Linked DNA regions of Homo sapiens: all the other regions are linked to region 1. Evidence: promoter capture Hi-C in 16 types of primary human blood cells and fetal thymus (Javierre and others, 2016). All regions are on one chromosome and are shown on one strand. The core of a region is centred on a gene start or on the middle of the fragment in contact, and the rest is flanking DNA. Distances in the headings are between cores, read along the strand shown.

Region 1 (4,079 bases), core at 718-3,217:
CATATTCTGGAAGAGGGTTCTTTCCACCCTGAGGCCAGGAGAAGACAGTCAGAGGCCCACGGGGACCCAGGTCGGGGCTCCTGCTGAGGCCCCAGTCGGTACGAGGTCACTGCAGGGGCTGAGCTCCCTTCCATCCAGGAAGACCTTATCTGCCTCATTCCTGCCACTGCCTCTCTCCCGTCTCACCCCATCCAAACCTACTCTCATCTCAGGGCAGGATCCAACTGGGTACCCTGTGGCCTCGTTGGCTAACTGATTTATACTAAGGTATGTGTCCTTTACAGTGTGAGCTGTGATGGTGAGTTTAGAATTGACTCGCCATGACTGCAGCCTGCAGAGGGAGCCAGCACCTCCAGGAACCCCATTCTTGCCATCAGCAGAGGGTCTATGGCTCCCACCTCATCCAGTGTCTCCCTGAGCACCATGTCTGCCTGACCAGGACCCAGTGGTCCTCCCATGAGGATGCTGCCTAGGGCTCCAACCCAATAGGTCCAAATACACCTCACCAACCTCCCCTCGGGGCTGTCCCCCCATTCCCCACCTCAGGGTCGGGTCACTACTCATATCTCATCCACCCACATGTCTCCTCAGTCTCAAGACTCTGCAATTTCCTCCATGTGGCTCCATCTCCACTTTTCCCACCAGCTCAAGCCAAATCTTATCTCTATGGACATCCCATTGGCCCTCATCAGGTCCCCCATGTCTGCTTGTTCCTGCAATCCATTCTCAAAACATAAAGCATAACATGTCACACAGTTTCACACTCTTCAGCACTTTCCTTTGCTCTGAGGAGAAGCCAGGCACCCACTCACCTGGCCCCACCCAGCACCCCCATCCCCACACACTCTTCCTTGCATCCTCCCTGCTACCTGATGGGGCCCCTGTGCCCCTCTTGTAAGCTGACATGCAGTGCACATTGGGGATGGCTTACTGAAGAGGCCCCTTGTCTGTCCTGTTCTCTAAGACATCTGCAGAGGCAAGAACAGATCCTGTGCATATCAGATGCCCCCAACTGTGCTTTCACACAATGTGTGAACAAAGAAGCAAACCAAGCTCCTCCAGAGGCAGGAGACAAGGACCTCCGGCTTCTTGGTCCCCGTGACACCGGGTCTGGTTGAGGCCAAGCTGCCCTCATCTTTGACCTGTTCTCTCCTTCCCTTCTCTCCCCAGGCAACATGAGAACCTCCAACTGGCCCAGGGAAGGAACTTGTAAAGCCCACCCCAACCAGGATAAGACAGTGGGGCATAAATGGGAGGAGAGGGGTTGGCTGTCAGTGCCACACTCAATGAACACTCACACATGCACACACTGATGCGTGCACACACGTGACATAAGTACACACGGTGACATCCCAATACATTCACAAACATACACAACACAAACAGGCCCAAACCCTCACTCTGAAACCTAACCCCACCCCCAAACTGCAACCCGGAACTCAAGTCCTAGCCTGAACCTTGACCCCAAACCCCAACTCAAGTCAGAAGGTAAACCATGGGCCGAATCCCGAACTGGAACTCAAACCCCAGCAGGAACCTGAACTCTTCCATTGTCTTTCCTCATCTGGCGCATGGGACTCAGCACCTGAGACTCTGTTGTGGCCCTCTGAATGAGCTGCGCCCCTCGTTCTTGTCCTCTCCACCAGCTGCGCTCCCTGTCCCTCTTCTCCCAAGGAGCCACCCGGCCCATGTCCCCCGCCCCGGTGGTCCCGATGAGATGCACCCAGGCTGACCCAGGGTGCAAATCCCCACCCCAATCCCCAACGCAAACCCTGAACGAGAGGCCTCGTCTAAACTTTAATCCCAAACTCCACCTCAAATTGGAACCGGAACCACAGATGGAAGCCTGAACCGGAACTCAAAGCCCAGCTGGAACCTGAACCCCGCCCTCGCCTGTGAGCACCTGCGCCCGGGTCTCGCCCTCCCCACGAGCTTCACCTCTGACCCCGACCTCCCCTAGAACTGCGCTTTCTACCCCGCAGTCCCAGGGTATCGCAAGCCGTCCCTCACACCCCACCTCCAGCAACGCCCTCTCGCCCTGTCTCCCCCACCTTCACTGTGAGCTGCAGCCCCCATGTCCCTGCCGTCCCCCTCACCCTCCCGGGAGCTGTGCCCACCTGACCCGGCATTTGCGCCTTTGTCTTCGTGGCCCGGAAGTGGCCCCGCCGGCGGAAGCACGAGAAGTGGCCACGTGCTGTACAGCGGCTGGCTGAGGAAGTCGCCCCCCGAGAAGAAGCTGAGGCTCTTTGTGAGTGGGGCAGTGGGGGCGGTACCAGGAGCGCCACGGAGGGTCTGGGGACTCCGGGAGGGGCGTGGGGGAGGCGGCCTGGGTCCACGGGAGGAGCTGCGGGTGGAGGCGACTTCTCCACGTCTGCATGCGAAGGCGACTCCCCGCCAGTGAGAGACAGGGTCCAGGTTTGTGTGGGTTGCGTTCCGAGACCCAGGGAGTTGATTCCAGGGCTGGGGACCCTATTACCTTGAGCGCCGTGGGCCTGCAGGTCGGAGAGTGGGCGGGAAAGGGGACACAGCAGGCTCCGCAGCCTCGCAAAACGGCAGGAACCTCGCACCCGCTCCCCTTCCCTCCCAGGCCCTGAGAATGGCGGGCACCTCGCACCCTCTCTCCTTCCCTCCCAGGCCCCAAGGAAGGCAGGCGCCTTAAACCTGCTCACCTTCCCTCCCAAGCCCCGAGAAGGCAGGCACCTCACACCCTCTCCCTTTCCCTCCCGGGCCCCAGGAAAACGCGGGCACCTCGCACCCGCTCGCTCCCCTTCCCTCCTCACCCGCCACTCCCGGGGTCGTTCGCGTCCTTCCATGCCACCACGCCTGCTGAGGGACAGTGTGCACTGCAGTGTAGTTTTCTATATATTAATTCATGTGGTTAAACGATTTAGAAAAAAAGAAGATTGGTTGCCCTTTCCCCTAGTGGCTAATTTGAAGAGTGTTGTTCTAAATTTCAACAATTTTACTGAGGAAGCGGTAATTGTTAGGAGTCACTATGATTATACCAAGGTACATAGAAGAGGCTTTTCTCTCCTGTTCCTTAGCCCCAGGTCCAGCCCTTCAAGAATCTATTCCAGAATAAGCTGATCCTATAGTCATCTTCCCTTTCCTCTGCTTCCCTGAGGTATGGGGTATGATCAATTCTGCGTTCTTGTCTTTCTCCATTTCTTTTTTCAATTTTTTATTATACTTTAAGTTCTGGGATACATGTGCAGAACGTGGAGGTTTGTTACATACATATACACGTGTCATGGTGGTTTGCTGCACCCATCAACCCATCATCTACATTAGGTATTTCTCGTAATGCTATCCCTTCCCTTGCCCCCCAACCCCAATAGGCCACATTGTGTAATGCTCCCGTCCCTGTGCCCATATGTTCTCATTGTTCAGCTGCCACTTATGAGTGAGAACATGGCGGTGTTTGGTTTTCTGTTCCAGTGTAAGTTTGCTGAGAATGATGATTTCCAGCTTCATCCATGTCCCTGTAAAGAACATGAACTCATTCTTTTTTATGGCTGCATAATATTCCATAGTGTATATGTGCCATATTTTCTTTATCCAGTCTATTATTGATGGGCATTTGGGTTGGTTCCAAGTCTTTGCTGTCGTGAATAGTGCTGCAATAAACATACGGGTGCACTTGTCTTTATAGTAGAATGATTTGTAATCCTTTGGGTATATACCCAGTAATGGGATGGCTGGGTCAAATGGTATTTCTAGTTCTTGATCCTTGAGGAGTCGCCACACTGTCTTTGACAATAGTTGAACTAATTTACACTCCAACCAACAGTGTAAAAACATTCCTATTTCTCCACATCTTCTCCAGCATCTGTTGTTTCCTGACTTTTTAATGATGGCCATTCTAACTGGCGTGAGATGGTATCTCGTTGCATTTCTCTAATGACCAGTGATGATGAGCATTTTTTCATGTTTGTTGGCCACATAAATATCTTCTTCTGTTAAGTGTCTGTTCATATCCTTTGCCCACTTCTTGATAGTGTTGTTGTTTTTTTCTTGTAAATTTGTTTAAATTCCTTATACATTCTGGATATTAGCCCTTTGTCAGATGGATAGATTGG
Region 2 (4,079 bases), core at 672-3,171, 490 kb before region 1:
TAATCCTTAGTCAGATGATGAGCTGGGCACAGGATAAGGTGTGAGGAGGAGAACTGAAGAAGAGTACAGGGGGTAGGTAAAAGGCTATTGCAATAACCTTTACTTTGTATGACTCTAGAAAAAGAGTCAACACCCTAGCATAAATGAATCATATTTATTTAATTCTTTCTAAATGCCAGTAAAGAACATTACCATGTCTTGTCTGTGGCTCGGATGCCAAGGAATTTTCTTCCTGCTTTTCACTGAAACACAGGAAAAAGAGGTGCCAATTAAAACAAAGACAGGTCCAAAATTGTTCTGTGCCACCCCAGGATGGTAGAACCCATTAATTTAACACAAAGAGAGTGTATGTGTGTGTGTTAAGGGGACAAGGCTTGGAGGCGGAACGCTGAATAAATGAACACTAAGATGCAGGCATGCTGGTCTAGGAGGGAAGTACTGACATACAGCTACCCTATGTTATGGCAACAGTATCAATGCATAAGAAAACAGTAACTTTTATTTTTTATTTTTATTTTTTTGAGACGGAGTCTTGCCCTGTCACTTAGGCTGGAGTGCAATGGCGCGATTTCAGCTCACTGCAACCTCCGCCTCCCAGGTTCAAATGATTCTCCTGCCTCAGCCTCCTGAGTAGCTGGGACTATAGGCACCCGCCACCAGGTGCAGCTAATTTTTGTATTTTTTAGTAGAGACGGGATTTCACCATGTTGGCCAGGCTGGTCTTGAACTCCTGACCTCATGATCTGCCTGCCTTGGCCTCCCAAAGTGTTGGGATTACAGGCGTGAGCCACCGTGCCCAGCCAGAAAACAGTAACTTTTAAAGCTTTTTTTGGAAATCAAACAGATGCACTGTTTTTTTTGTTTGTTTGTTCTTGTTTTTTATCACTGCTCCAGTCAAGAGAGAGATGCAACTGTTAATAATTAAATGCCAAGAAAAAAGAACTGTAGGGATTCCAATGTCCTCCTCCCTGATTCAGGGCCGCACTGAAGACAGGTGTATTTATTATAATTGATCCTTACCTAAGGCAGAGGGTTAAGAGCATGGGCTCCGAAGGGGGAATGCCTCTATTCAAGCTGTGCCACTTACAATGTGACCTCAGGAAAGTTAATTAACTTTCCCCCAAAATGGAGCTATTAATAGTGCCTACCTCACAGGGACGTTGGAGATTAAATGACAAAATGCAAAGTGTATAACGCATTAGGATGAAGTATCATTTTCACTTGTATCCCTGAAACAGAAAGGACACTCTGTGGACTTTTCGCTTGTTTTCGATTAAAGTTTCTATGAGAATGAAAATGTTCTATATTGGCATTATCCAATAAACCATGTGGCTGCTGAGCATCTGAAACGTGGCCAGCGTGAACCAGAAACTGAATTTTAAATTTAATGAAAAAATATTTAAATACTGGCTTACACACACAGCTCTAAAGGAAAAAAGTCACCAGTAGAGGGTAGCACAAGTCCATGGATGCTTGTTAAAATGATTCTACAGTCCCAACCCTAAGCTACTGTGATTCTTGATACTTATGGGGAAACGGAGACAGGTATCATGCAGCTTTCTGAATATCGAAGGACGTGTGAAATCCTAACAAACCCGGAAACAGGTGTTGATACATAAAACGTTAAGTAATTACAGGACATTTGTCACAGAAACGGATAAGCAAGAAATAGGCAGCTGCAATCTGAAGCTGAACTTCTGTAAAGTTAAGTGGATGCTGATTGAGTTAAAATCAGGATCTGAGTGATCTACATTCTTTTTTTTTTTGAGATGGAGTATCGCTGTGTCGCCCAGGCTGGAGTGCAGTGGCATAATCTCGGCTCACTGCAAGCTCTGCCTCCCAGGTTCACGTCATTCTCCTGCCTCAGCCTCCCGAGTAGCTGGGACTACAGGCACCCGCCACCACGACTGGCTAATTTTTTGTATTTTTAGTAGAGACGGGGTTTCACCGTGTTAGCCAGGATGGTCTCGATCTCCTGAGTGATCTATATTCTTAATCTGATTTCCCAGAAATATTTCTTAGTGGTTAAAAAGTGACAGGGTGAAATTCAGCCTAACTCAAGCATTTAGATTAAGTAGGAAGGGAAGAAGCCACTTGTCCTGAGTTATCAGAATTTTTAAGAATACAGCCTCACTTCAATAGGCTTAGTGATAGAGCTGATCCTTAAGTAAAAAGTGTATTTACACAGCATAGGTCAGATTTTGAAAAGTCCTATAGCAAGATTCACATGGTGAAATTTCCTAGAAGATAATGACATATAAAAGAAAATCCCCCAAGTATCTTTCTTTGCTAAAATTAAATATAAAATTGAAGAATGAAAAAAACTGTCTTGTTCAATATAATCCTCATTAAGTGCACATCCATCGTCTAGTAAGAGGACTCGCTTAGAGAGGGGAGGTGACTTGCCAGATGTCACACACTAAGGGCTTCCTGACTGTACTGCACATGTGGTAATTTCATAAGGACTCAGTTTCAGGTTGCTATAATAATGTGCTTCCCATGGCACAGGCAAAATAAAGAAAAAGGAATAAATGAATTAAGGTCCCTTCTGCCATGGTCTATGACCACAACTAACAAGATTTTCTTACCTCAACAGAATCTCCTCCTGCAGTTTCTTCCGTTTTGGGGGTCTTCCTCTTCTTTTTCCCGTTTTTCCAGGAATACTTGAGACATTTTTTTGTCCTTCACTTTCCCTAATAAATAATATTAAATAGAAATGTTCTGGCACAGGATTGGCATTGCTACATATGATTTTAAAACAGTATTTCTGGCCATGAGATTACCAAAAAGGATTAAATGTAGCAGTGAAAGGAAAAGGGAACAGCAACTTCCAGTCTTCATTATTAGACTGTGGATCTGAGGAAAACTAACATTTTGCAATACTAAAATGTGCTTAAGATCTAACTAACACCTTCCGAAGAGTAAGCATTCTCCTAGCAGTAAGAAAGCCTAAATAAGAGGTTAGCATTGTTTTGGGATGCTATGGAAATGCGGCCTCTTCCTTACTTAGTAAAGCTTATGTTTCAGGCATCATTTAAATTCCTTCTGTTCTTAAACTGATGGATACTAACGTTCATAAACTACATCATTAAATTCTTTTTTTTTTTTTTTTTTTGATGGAGTCTCGCTCTGTCGCCCAGGCTGGAGTGCAGTGGTGCGATCTCGGCTCACTGCAAGATCAGCCTCCCGGGTTCACACCATTCTCCTGCCTCAGCCTCCCGAGTAGCTGGGACTACAGGTGCCCGCCACCACGCCTGGCTAATTTTTTGTATTTTTAGTAGAGACAGGGTTTCACCGTATTAGCCAGGATGGTCTCGATCTCCTGACCTCGTGATCCGCCCGCCTCGGCCTCCCAGAGTGCTGGGATTACAGGCATGAGCCACTGCGCCTGGCATAAACTACATCATTAATTCTAGTCGAAATAAGGAGATCTCAAGGACTGATGATGCAAGATGAAATTGTTACTGCAGTGAAATGATTGTGCTGCTGAGAAGAAACCTGCTATATTAAAATAGCCTGTGGCAAGAGGAGTGGCATTTCTCAGAAACCTCCTATCAAGAACTTCAGATTAAAAAAGTATATTTAACCCCTCTGGTAGCAGAGAATTAATTCCTTTTTGTTTTTGCATGAAGTATCTCCTTACCATCTCTTTGCAGGCATGCTTAGAGAATTCCTTCATTAGGAAAAAAAAATTGTGCTGTAGAATTCTGATGCATTTAATCTTAATGACATTTTAATACAGTAGCTATCATGCCCTAACACTGAAGAACATACCTGCTCAAAGAGAGTTCTCCATTGGATTTTCCTTGCACCGGGTCCTCTTTGTACATTCGTGTTCCATAGAAATACCAATATAGTGCCCCAGAATTGTCTTCACCCAATGGCTCCACACGGAGACTGTCTGCATCCAGGCCCTACACAGAGCACGGAAAAGGGGTTTGGGGAAATGGGGAACAAAACGCACCAGGAAAAAACCAGAACGAGGATTCCAAATTTACACGTAAGCATAACTCAAATCTAAAAATGCCCAAGTATCGCTGGGCGTGGTGGCTCACGCCTGTAATCCCAGCACTTTGGGA
Region 3 (4,079 bases), core at 1,148-3,647, 450 kb before region 1:
GGTGCGCACCTGTAGTCCCAGCTGCTGAGGAGTCTGAGGGAGGAGAATCACTTGAACCCTGGAGACGGAGGTTGCAGTGAGCCAAGGTTGTGCCATTGCACTCCAGCCTGGGCGACAGAGCGAGACTCCATTTCAAAAAAAAAAAAAAAAAAGTAACGGGTACTTCCCAGTCTTGACTCATGTTGTTTCTTCTGTTGTCATAGGCATGGTTTCTTCACTCCCACCCAATCCCATCGCAGAGGAAAAACATGGGAAACATCTGGAACGAAGACTGACTTCTGTGTATTCTGGTGCACAAAGGCTTGCCCATGAGAAGGGCTCACACACTTGGGCTCACTGGAGAATGCTAATTGCTTTTACCTGGATAAATTGGTCTACTGATAACGAAAGCCATCAAACTCCTCGCCAGGAGTTTCAGGAGAAAGTGCCTAGCAAATGATGGTAAATTCTAAATGAGTCCTAACCCCAACAGGAAGTACAGATGGGGTGGGAAATATAGGGAGTTTGTTGTATCTATTTTTCTGCCTGAGGCATCCACCATCTTTGAATACTTGAAAGAGAATGGGACTTGAAAAATACTGTCTCACAAACAGAATATTTAAAAGAGGATAAAGGAAATAACTTTCTTAAAAAAAATCACCATTGTTTTAGGAGACTGGTGGGAATCAAACTTAATATCAGTAAGTTGTGTATCAGCAGTTGCTTTGGATAAAAAAGAATAAACTCTGAACCAACAGAGAAAGAGAAGAGAAGCTTTCCTCATATCAGATTGACTAGGACCTACAATAAACAGAACGTCCCATTTCTACAAATAAGAGCTGCTACAGCTGCTGGCAGAGCAGCACGACCGGGGAAACCCATCGCGGTAATGGGTGATTCCCTGATGCTGCGAATTAGGGAAGCAACCACAGGATTGACAGGTCTACAAAGAGACACACAGCACCCCCAAACAGGTCTCCAGGATGGAACTAAAGGCCAGCTAAGACTAAGCCAAACTTGGTTAGTTTTTGTGGGGATGAAACACTGCTGCTAACCCCAGAAGAGACCTAGAAAGGATGAAGTCCTAGGCAAGAAAATAAAGATTTGATATAAACATAAGAGATTTCCTTCCCCTACACCCCAAAAATGAAGTTTCACTTTGTGGGAGAGAAAGCTGTGATGTGAAAAGATAGGCTGCAGCTGTGTAGATAGTGTTTATTAATGTGATTCAACGACTGGGACATAAGGATACCGGGGATGACAGGCACTGGCTAGAGGCAGAGACTCTCCATACAATCTAAGACTTGTCAACCTGAAGGTCTGAACTAAAATGAGAGGGGAAGAGAAAACTGATGGGGCAAGAAACTGAAGCCCCAGAATCAAGACACCTGGGTCACTGGGGAGTACAGGAATCACATGTGAATAACCTTCAATCCCTCTAAAGAATCCAAATCGAGGCTGGGCGCGGTGGCTCACGCCTGCAATCCCTGCACTTTGGGAGGCCGAGACGGGCGGATCACCTGAGGTCAGGAGTTAGTGACCAGCCTGGCCAACATGGCGAAATCCTGTCTCTACTGAAAATAGAAAACTTAGCCGGGCATGGTGGCACGCACCTGTAATCCCAGCTAGTCGGGAGGCTGAGGCGGGAGAATTGCTTGAACCCAGGAGACAGAGGTTGTAGTGAACCAAGATCATGCCATTGTCCTCCATTCTGGGTGACAGAGCAAAACTCTGTCTCAGAAAATTAAATCTAAATTTTTTCCAAAGAAGAAACCTCAGAGAAGACTTCAAAGTTGCAAGTGTATACAGAGAGGTGTCATAGGTGAGGGGCTATCAAAGACACCAAACTGCCTTCTGGGCTGGAAGAGGAAGTTATAAAAATAAAGAAGTCCAGGCATGGTTACACGAATATGTAGTCCCAACTACTCAGAAAGCTGGAGAAAGGAAGAGGAAGAGAAGAAATAGATCAATGGAGTAGAATAAATACCCTGAGAAACACCCGCACAGCACATACTAAGCTGCTACTGGTATAAATACATGTGGCCCTTCATAAACCCAGCTTACAAAGTTACATGCTCAGCTTAAGGAGTTAAAAGGATAAGAGGCTTCTGAAGAATTTGTTTCAAGACAGTTGCTTTAGGTTGCATATTTGGAAAACCCATGTGAAAAGCCAGGTTTCCTGTGTTGAAGATTTTCAAAGAGTGAAGGATGCACAACAGACTTCCATCACAAAGAAGTTCAGGAGTTTGCAAAGTGGCTACAAAGAAGCAACTATAATAATTTTGGCATGTGGCTTTCATTGTTCTCTTTTTCTATTTCTCTGTATTTTTGGTAGTATGAAATTGCATCTTTGGGCAGGTGCTGTGGCTCACACCTGTAATCCCAACACTTTGTGAGGCCGACGCCGGGGGAGTCCCTTGAACTCAGGAGTTCAAGACCAGCCTGGGCAATGTGGTGAAACTCTGTCTTTACAAAAACCAAAAACAAAAAAAAACACACACAAAAAATTGGCTGGGCGTTGTGGCGCTCAACCGTAGTCCCAGCTACTCGGGTGGCTGAGATGGGAGGATAGCTTGAACCCGGGAAGTTGCAGAGGCAGTGAGCTGTGGTCATGCCACTATGCTCTAGGCTGGGACACAGGGCTGGGATGCAGGGCCGGGCAGGGCAAAGGAAAAGAGGAAGAAAGAAAGAAACTGCATCTTTGCTCTGGATCTTTTTTCTAAAATATAAGCCCTAGAATGACCCTGGGGGTCCTTAGGCCCTGAGTATATCACCCTGCAGGTTCTTACTGTAACTGGAATATGCAACGGACAACTAAAATCAATCCTTTGGAATCTAGGCTTCCTTGGTCTGTCCTTGAAATACTTTTGTGTAACTCAATAATCAGAAGGGAGAGAAGTGCTTAGGGTAAGAAGGGATGATTCGCTTTTACTTTTTCCAAGTATAAGTTGCTTTCTTCTCAAACTGATGTAGACAGTAATTCATAATGACTCATTTTCACAAAGCTATAGGTCACTATTATTTAAATGTGCTAACTTCACAATTTTTAAAGCTCCTGAAGTGAGATTTTTTTGCTCCTTTTAAAGGTATTTTAAAACTAAGTACCTAGACTTAGGTTAGACACACAGAGTAATACAAACAGTAAACTCAAGAAACCTGCTCCTTCATAACAAAAAAAGTCAGCAAAGTACTCTCTGTTTTTAAATCAGTGCTTTCCAAGAATATTTGGTAATAATAACCCTGTAGCTTTAATTCTTCCTTGCATGATCCATATGTACCTAAGTGTTTTCTGTTAGATTTTACTATTCATTCTGTTTTAAAAAATAACACTTTTTACTTGGAAATAATTATAGGTTATATAAACACTGTATACGGAAATCCCATGTGATCTTCATCAGAATTTCCCCAATGGTAACATCTTACATAACTATAATATTAAAAAGAAAAAAAAAACTCACAATGGCACCATTTTACCCACCGTATTAAAACTGCACCAGTTTTACATGCAGTCATGTGTGTGTTATGTGGTTCTATGCTTTTTTTTTTTTTTTGGAGACAGAGACTTGCTCTGTCGCCCAGGTTGTAGTGCATTGGTGCAATCTCAGCTCACTGCAACCTCCAACTCTTGGGTTCAAGCAATTCTCTGCCTTAGCCTCTCAAGCAGGTGGGATTACAGGCGCCCGCCACCACACCTGGCTAATTTTTGTATTTTTAGTAGAGATGGGGTTTCACCATCTTGGCCAGGCTGGTCTGGAACTCCTGATCTCGTGATCCACCCGCCTCAGCCTCCCCAAGTGCTGGGATTACAGGTGTAAGCCACTGCACCCGGCCAGTTCTACGCAGTTTTATCATATGTATTGAGTCATGCAGCCACCCCCACAATTAAGATGAAGAACAGTGCTATCACCACAGGGCTCCCTTGTGTTACTTCTTTATAGCTATGTCCACTCTCCTCTCACCTTATCTCTAATCCTTGGCAACCACTAATCTGTTCTCTGTCTCTATAATGTTATTATTTCAATGATGTTATATGTAAATGAAATAATATCATATATAAGCTTTTAAGATTAGCTTTCTTTCACTCAGCACAATTTCCTTGA
Region 4 (4,079 bases), core at 652-3,151, 430 kb before region 1:
CAATGCCTCCTGGAATCTGGTAAGTAACCTAAAAAGATAAAGTAGGCTAAACCAGGAAGCAGATTACGAGGAGTGGGGAGTCACCCGGAAGTCGCTCTAAAGACAACAGTGGTGCACAGAACAGGCGATGTGAAGGTGCGGGGTGCTGCGGCAGAGAAAGGCCCGTCCTCGCTGCCTACTTCAGACAACTGAAGCTGCTAAGCCGGAGTCAATTTTAAGCAGTAACTTTTTTTCCATCTCTTCTTCTGGGTCAGAATTAGAGATGAGTAAACTCCTGGGACTGAATATGATCTTGTCTCCTCCCTGCTGGTGCCTTTCCACCATCTGCCCTTGGCTCCCAGGGAGTCTCTAAGACTCCTGCTGCTTAAAGGGATTCTGCCCTTTTTTCCTTTCTGAATATTCTAAGATTAATTCCACAGATAATAAAACTATGTAAAATATTATTACAATTACCAACAAGTTACAGCCAAACAGAATTTTAATAGAGAAATCGCCCAGAGCAACATTATTGACTGTTAAAACTAAAAACGGGAAACTTACCTTTAAAGCACATCAGCTCTAACTGGATGCCCAACATTCTACCTGCCTTGCTTTCCTGGGCATTATGGATTTAAGGATTTGTAGAATGGCTGCTGAGAAGTTTCGTTTGTCCTTTAAGAAAACGAGCTAGAGGGCAGGAAGAGACGCTCAGAAGCAAACAGTACAAAGAAACACACCAGGACATACCACTGGCAGACTGGACAGCAAGTAAATGGAGCCTGATGAAAGAATAGAAAAAGGTTCCACTATTCCAATAGAAGAAAGGGTTTTCTTCCAAGATAAAGTTTAAAAAATAAAACAACTGCAAATGCAAAATGCCATTAACACCTATGACTCATTCAGTCATGAAGCAAAAATGTGAATGATTCTAGGGAAGCCTGTGAATTACTACTATCATCTAGTGATTGGCCAGGCGCGGTGGCTCACTCCTGTAATCCCAGCACTTTGGGAGGCCGAGGAGGGTGGATCATGAGGTCAGGAGTTCAAGACCAGCCTGGCCAAGATGGTGAAACCCCGTCTCTACTAAAAATACAAAAATTAGCCAGGCGGTGGTGGCGGGCGCCTGTAATCCCAGCTACTCGGGAGGCTGAGGCAGAGAACTGCTTGAATCCGGGAGGTGGAGGCTGCAGTGAGCTGAGACCGCACCACTGCACTCCAGCCTGGGCGACAGAGTGAGATTCCATCTCAAAAAACACAAAACAAACAAAAAAACCTGTGGTGTGATCAAAGCTCACTGCAAGCCTTGAACTCCTGGGCTCCAGTGATCCTCCTGCCTCGGCCTCCCTAGTAGCTAGGACTACAAGATGTGCATCAACTACGCCCAACTAATTTAAAAATATATATGTATTTGTAGAAATGGGGGTCTCGCTATGTTGCTCAGGCTGCTCCAGAACTCCTAGCCTCAAGCTATCCTCTCCCATCTTGGCCTCCTGAAGTTCTGGGATTATAGGTGTGAGCCACCACACCTGGCCTGATCTGCATTTTTTAATAAGCTTCCCTCACCATGGATTCCCATGAGCTCCAAAGTGAATAGTGTTAAGGGGACCAAATTCTGAATTTCACACGGAACTCTTCTAGTATGACATGCTCTTGTTTTGCGGTTTTTTCTGTCTTTCCCACCTTGAATCTTCTTCTGAATTCAAAATAGGTAAAGCTGTTGATAATGTAAACAGCTTCCCAACTTTGTATAATTTCAAAGAGACCAGAGTTTGATTCTAGTAGAAGATGGTCAATGAAAATGAAGTCAACAGGTCTGCCACCCGCTTCCTGCAGAGAAATATGTTCAGAACATCCAAATCCTTTCCTTGTGAGAGACAAAAATTGTAAGACAGAGTATGGTGTGTGATATCACCTCCCTATGGAACTTTATTTTATACTTCAACATGTTCCATGAAATTCTTACAAGGTGAGTTATACATCTTAATCACATTTCTGTAAATTCTGTTTCATAAAGGACTTTAGCCAAACAATTATTTATCATCTTTCTTAATCTTGTTTCCATGTAAAATTCTTCAAACCAGAAATAATCTATCAAGACTGGAAAAACAATCTATTCATAGATCCAGGACTGAGACATCTAGATAACTTATTATCCTCTGGCAATATCCTCAAAAAAGAAGGATTCATTCATTCATTCAAGTAACGGGGGGTGGGGTCCACAGAGTAAGACACAGGGAAAGCATTTAACCCCTAGTCAATCTCCCCCGGCTACTTTTTAAAAGAAAGCTTTCATCACGTTAGAATAAATGACGCACTATTCTATACAAATCATGGTGAGTGATTTAAAATTACCATACTACAATACAAATATTATTTGCTAAACTAAAATAAAATTGAAGGGCTCTGTGTTAAGATTATCAGCCTAGTACAGTATCACAGCTGTGCGTTCCATCATATTCCTCCTATATCTGGCAGCAGGAAAGATCTATCTAGGGCCATCCCAGATTCCCAACAACAACCAGTATACTTGCTCCCTCAACACGCATCATTTTAATGTGTTAATAGGCCAGGCATGGTGGCTCACGCCTGTAATCCCAGCACTTTTGAGAAGCCAAGGCAGGCGGATCACCTGAGGTCAGGAGTTCGAGACCAGCCTGGCCAACATGGTGAAACCCCATCTCTATTAAAAATATAAAAATTAGCCGGGCGTGGTGGCATGCACCTGTAATCCCAACTACTCTGGAGGCTGTGGCAGGACAATCACTTGAACCCGGGTTGTGGTAAGCTGAGATCACTCCACTGCACTCCAGTCTGGGTGACAGAGTGAGACTCCATCCCGCCCCCTGCCCCCTGCCCCTCCCCCCCAAAAACAGTGTTAATAAGACCTGACAGTCAGCTGAATACCCATGAAATTAGAAATATAATCATCAACAGATACAAGGCACTACACTTTCTTGAACATTTGGTTACTAAAAAAAAGTCCCAGAAAACACAGGGGATGTCTGTAATGATTGTATAATCATCATGTTGAGAAAGGAGTGGAGGGGTAGGGATCAGAGGGTGGTAGTCAAATTTCTGTTTCTAATAAATCTGTTCGGAGACTTGAAATCAAGTTTTTCTTGTTTTCTTACATCACTTTGCTATATAATGCTATACAACCTTCCCTCTCATTACTTCAAGTCAGATATCAGATCAATAAATCAATAAAAGTCCCAGCTTCACTTCAAGAGACAGGGAATAGACAGTGTGGGATATCATAATAAGTGTAAGGACAGACCTGAATTCCACTCAAATTTTAGTTCCTTAGTTACTAGTGAGACCTACAGAGAGTCATTTCTCTGAGGCACTTTGTCTTTTCCATAAAGTTTTTATGCCATAACAGACAGAGAAAGAGTTCCATTTTTCAATCAACAAGGCAAAAAAGAGGCCAAGTAATTGGGAATGTAATAAAGGTGAGCCTATTTTACAACATCGAGTGGGAGCTAGGAAGCCCTCTGACAAATCTTTAAGCTGATGGAGCCTGAATGACTAATGACTATTTTAGTTTTTCCTTTTAAAAAATGATGTGAATAAATACAGATACCCCCCACAACACACACACACACAGTTTTATATAAATTCAAAAAACAATCATACTATTCATTCTGGGGGTTGTTTGTATACAATTTTCTTTCCTTTTTTTACTCCCTACTTCAGTAACTCCCCTCATATACAAACAAGTATACTTTTTTTGTTTTTTTTTTCAATGTAATCATATTCATATATACATACATGCAGACACATGCATCAATGTATGGGCGTAGGCCTTTTCTAATAGACTGATACTACCCATGCTTGCCTGCACATTTTCTATCTTGTGCAAATCTCTCCAAGTCAAGTGGTATAGTGTAGGTCCATTTCATTCTATTAAAAGGTGGGCTAATACTCCACGGTACGCAGGTAACATCCTATTCAGCCACCCCGCTAATGACGGGCTTTCACTCTGTTCTCCATTTTAGGCCACACAGAACCACGCTGCAATGACATTCCTTGTCCATTGCACGGCAGTTGTTTTGTACCCATTGATTAAAATTCCAGGACTGGCATTACTGGAGCAATGA

What was found. The method cuts DNA at HindIII sites, captures the fragments that hold promoters and counts their contacts. A CHiCAGO score of 5 or more calls a contact.
Region 2: a contact is called between a fragment that was not itself captured here and the fragment with the promoter of GAB4 in region 1, in 1 of 17 cell types (total CD4 T cells). The highest score is 5.0, in total CD4 T cells.
Region 3: a fragment that was not itself captured here is called in contact with the fragment with the promoter of GAB4 in region 1 in 1 of 17 cell types (fetal thymus); the score reaches 5.0 in fetal thymus.
Region 4: a fragment that was not itself captured here is called in contact with the fragment with the promoter of GAB4 in region 1 in 1 of 17 cell types (M2 macrophages); the score reaches 5.1 in M2 macrophages.

Annotation. Positions count from the first base shown.
Region 1 is chr22:17,006,110-17,010,188 of GRCh38, reverse strand. GAB4 (GRB2 associated binding protein family member 4) reads left to right here and starts at 1,967. Exons shown (of 10, transcript NM_001037814.1): 1 at 1,967-2,248. The coding sequence starts at 2,075. The HindIII fragment of the contact is 7,120 bases long and covers 1-4,079 here.
Region 2 is chr22:17,499,245-17,503,323 of GRCh38, reverse strand. It overlaps CECR2 (CECR2 histone acetyl-lysine reader), which reads right to left. Exons shown (of 19, transcript NM_001290047.2): 4 at 3,775-3,914; 5 at 2,589-2,693; 6 at 193-242. Among named protein-coding and RNA genes, the nearest start is that of SLC25A18, 62 kb to the left of the region's middle. The HindIII fragment of the contact is 2,192 bases long and covers 826-3,017 here.
Region 3 is chr22:17,457,866-17,461,944 of GRCh38, reverse strand. The region is part of intron 1 of CECR2 (CECR2 histone acetyl-lysine reader); the gene reads right to left. Among named protein-coding and RNA genes, the nearest start is that of CECR2, 90 kb to the right of the region's middle. RefSeq lists a silencer at 1,757-1,957. The HindIII fragment of the contact is 3,284 bases long and covers 756-4,039 here.
Region 4 is chr22:17,439,714-17,443,792 of GRCh38, reverse strand. All of the region lies in intron 1 of CECR2 (CECR2 histone acetyl-lysine reader), which reads right to left. Among named protein-coding and RNA genes, the nearest start is that of CECR2, 72 kb to the right of the region's middle. The HindIII fragment of the contact is 733 bases long and covers 1,535-2,267 here.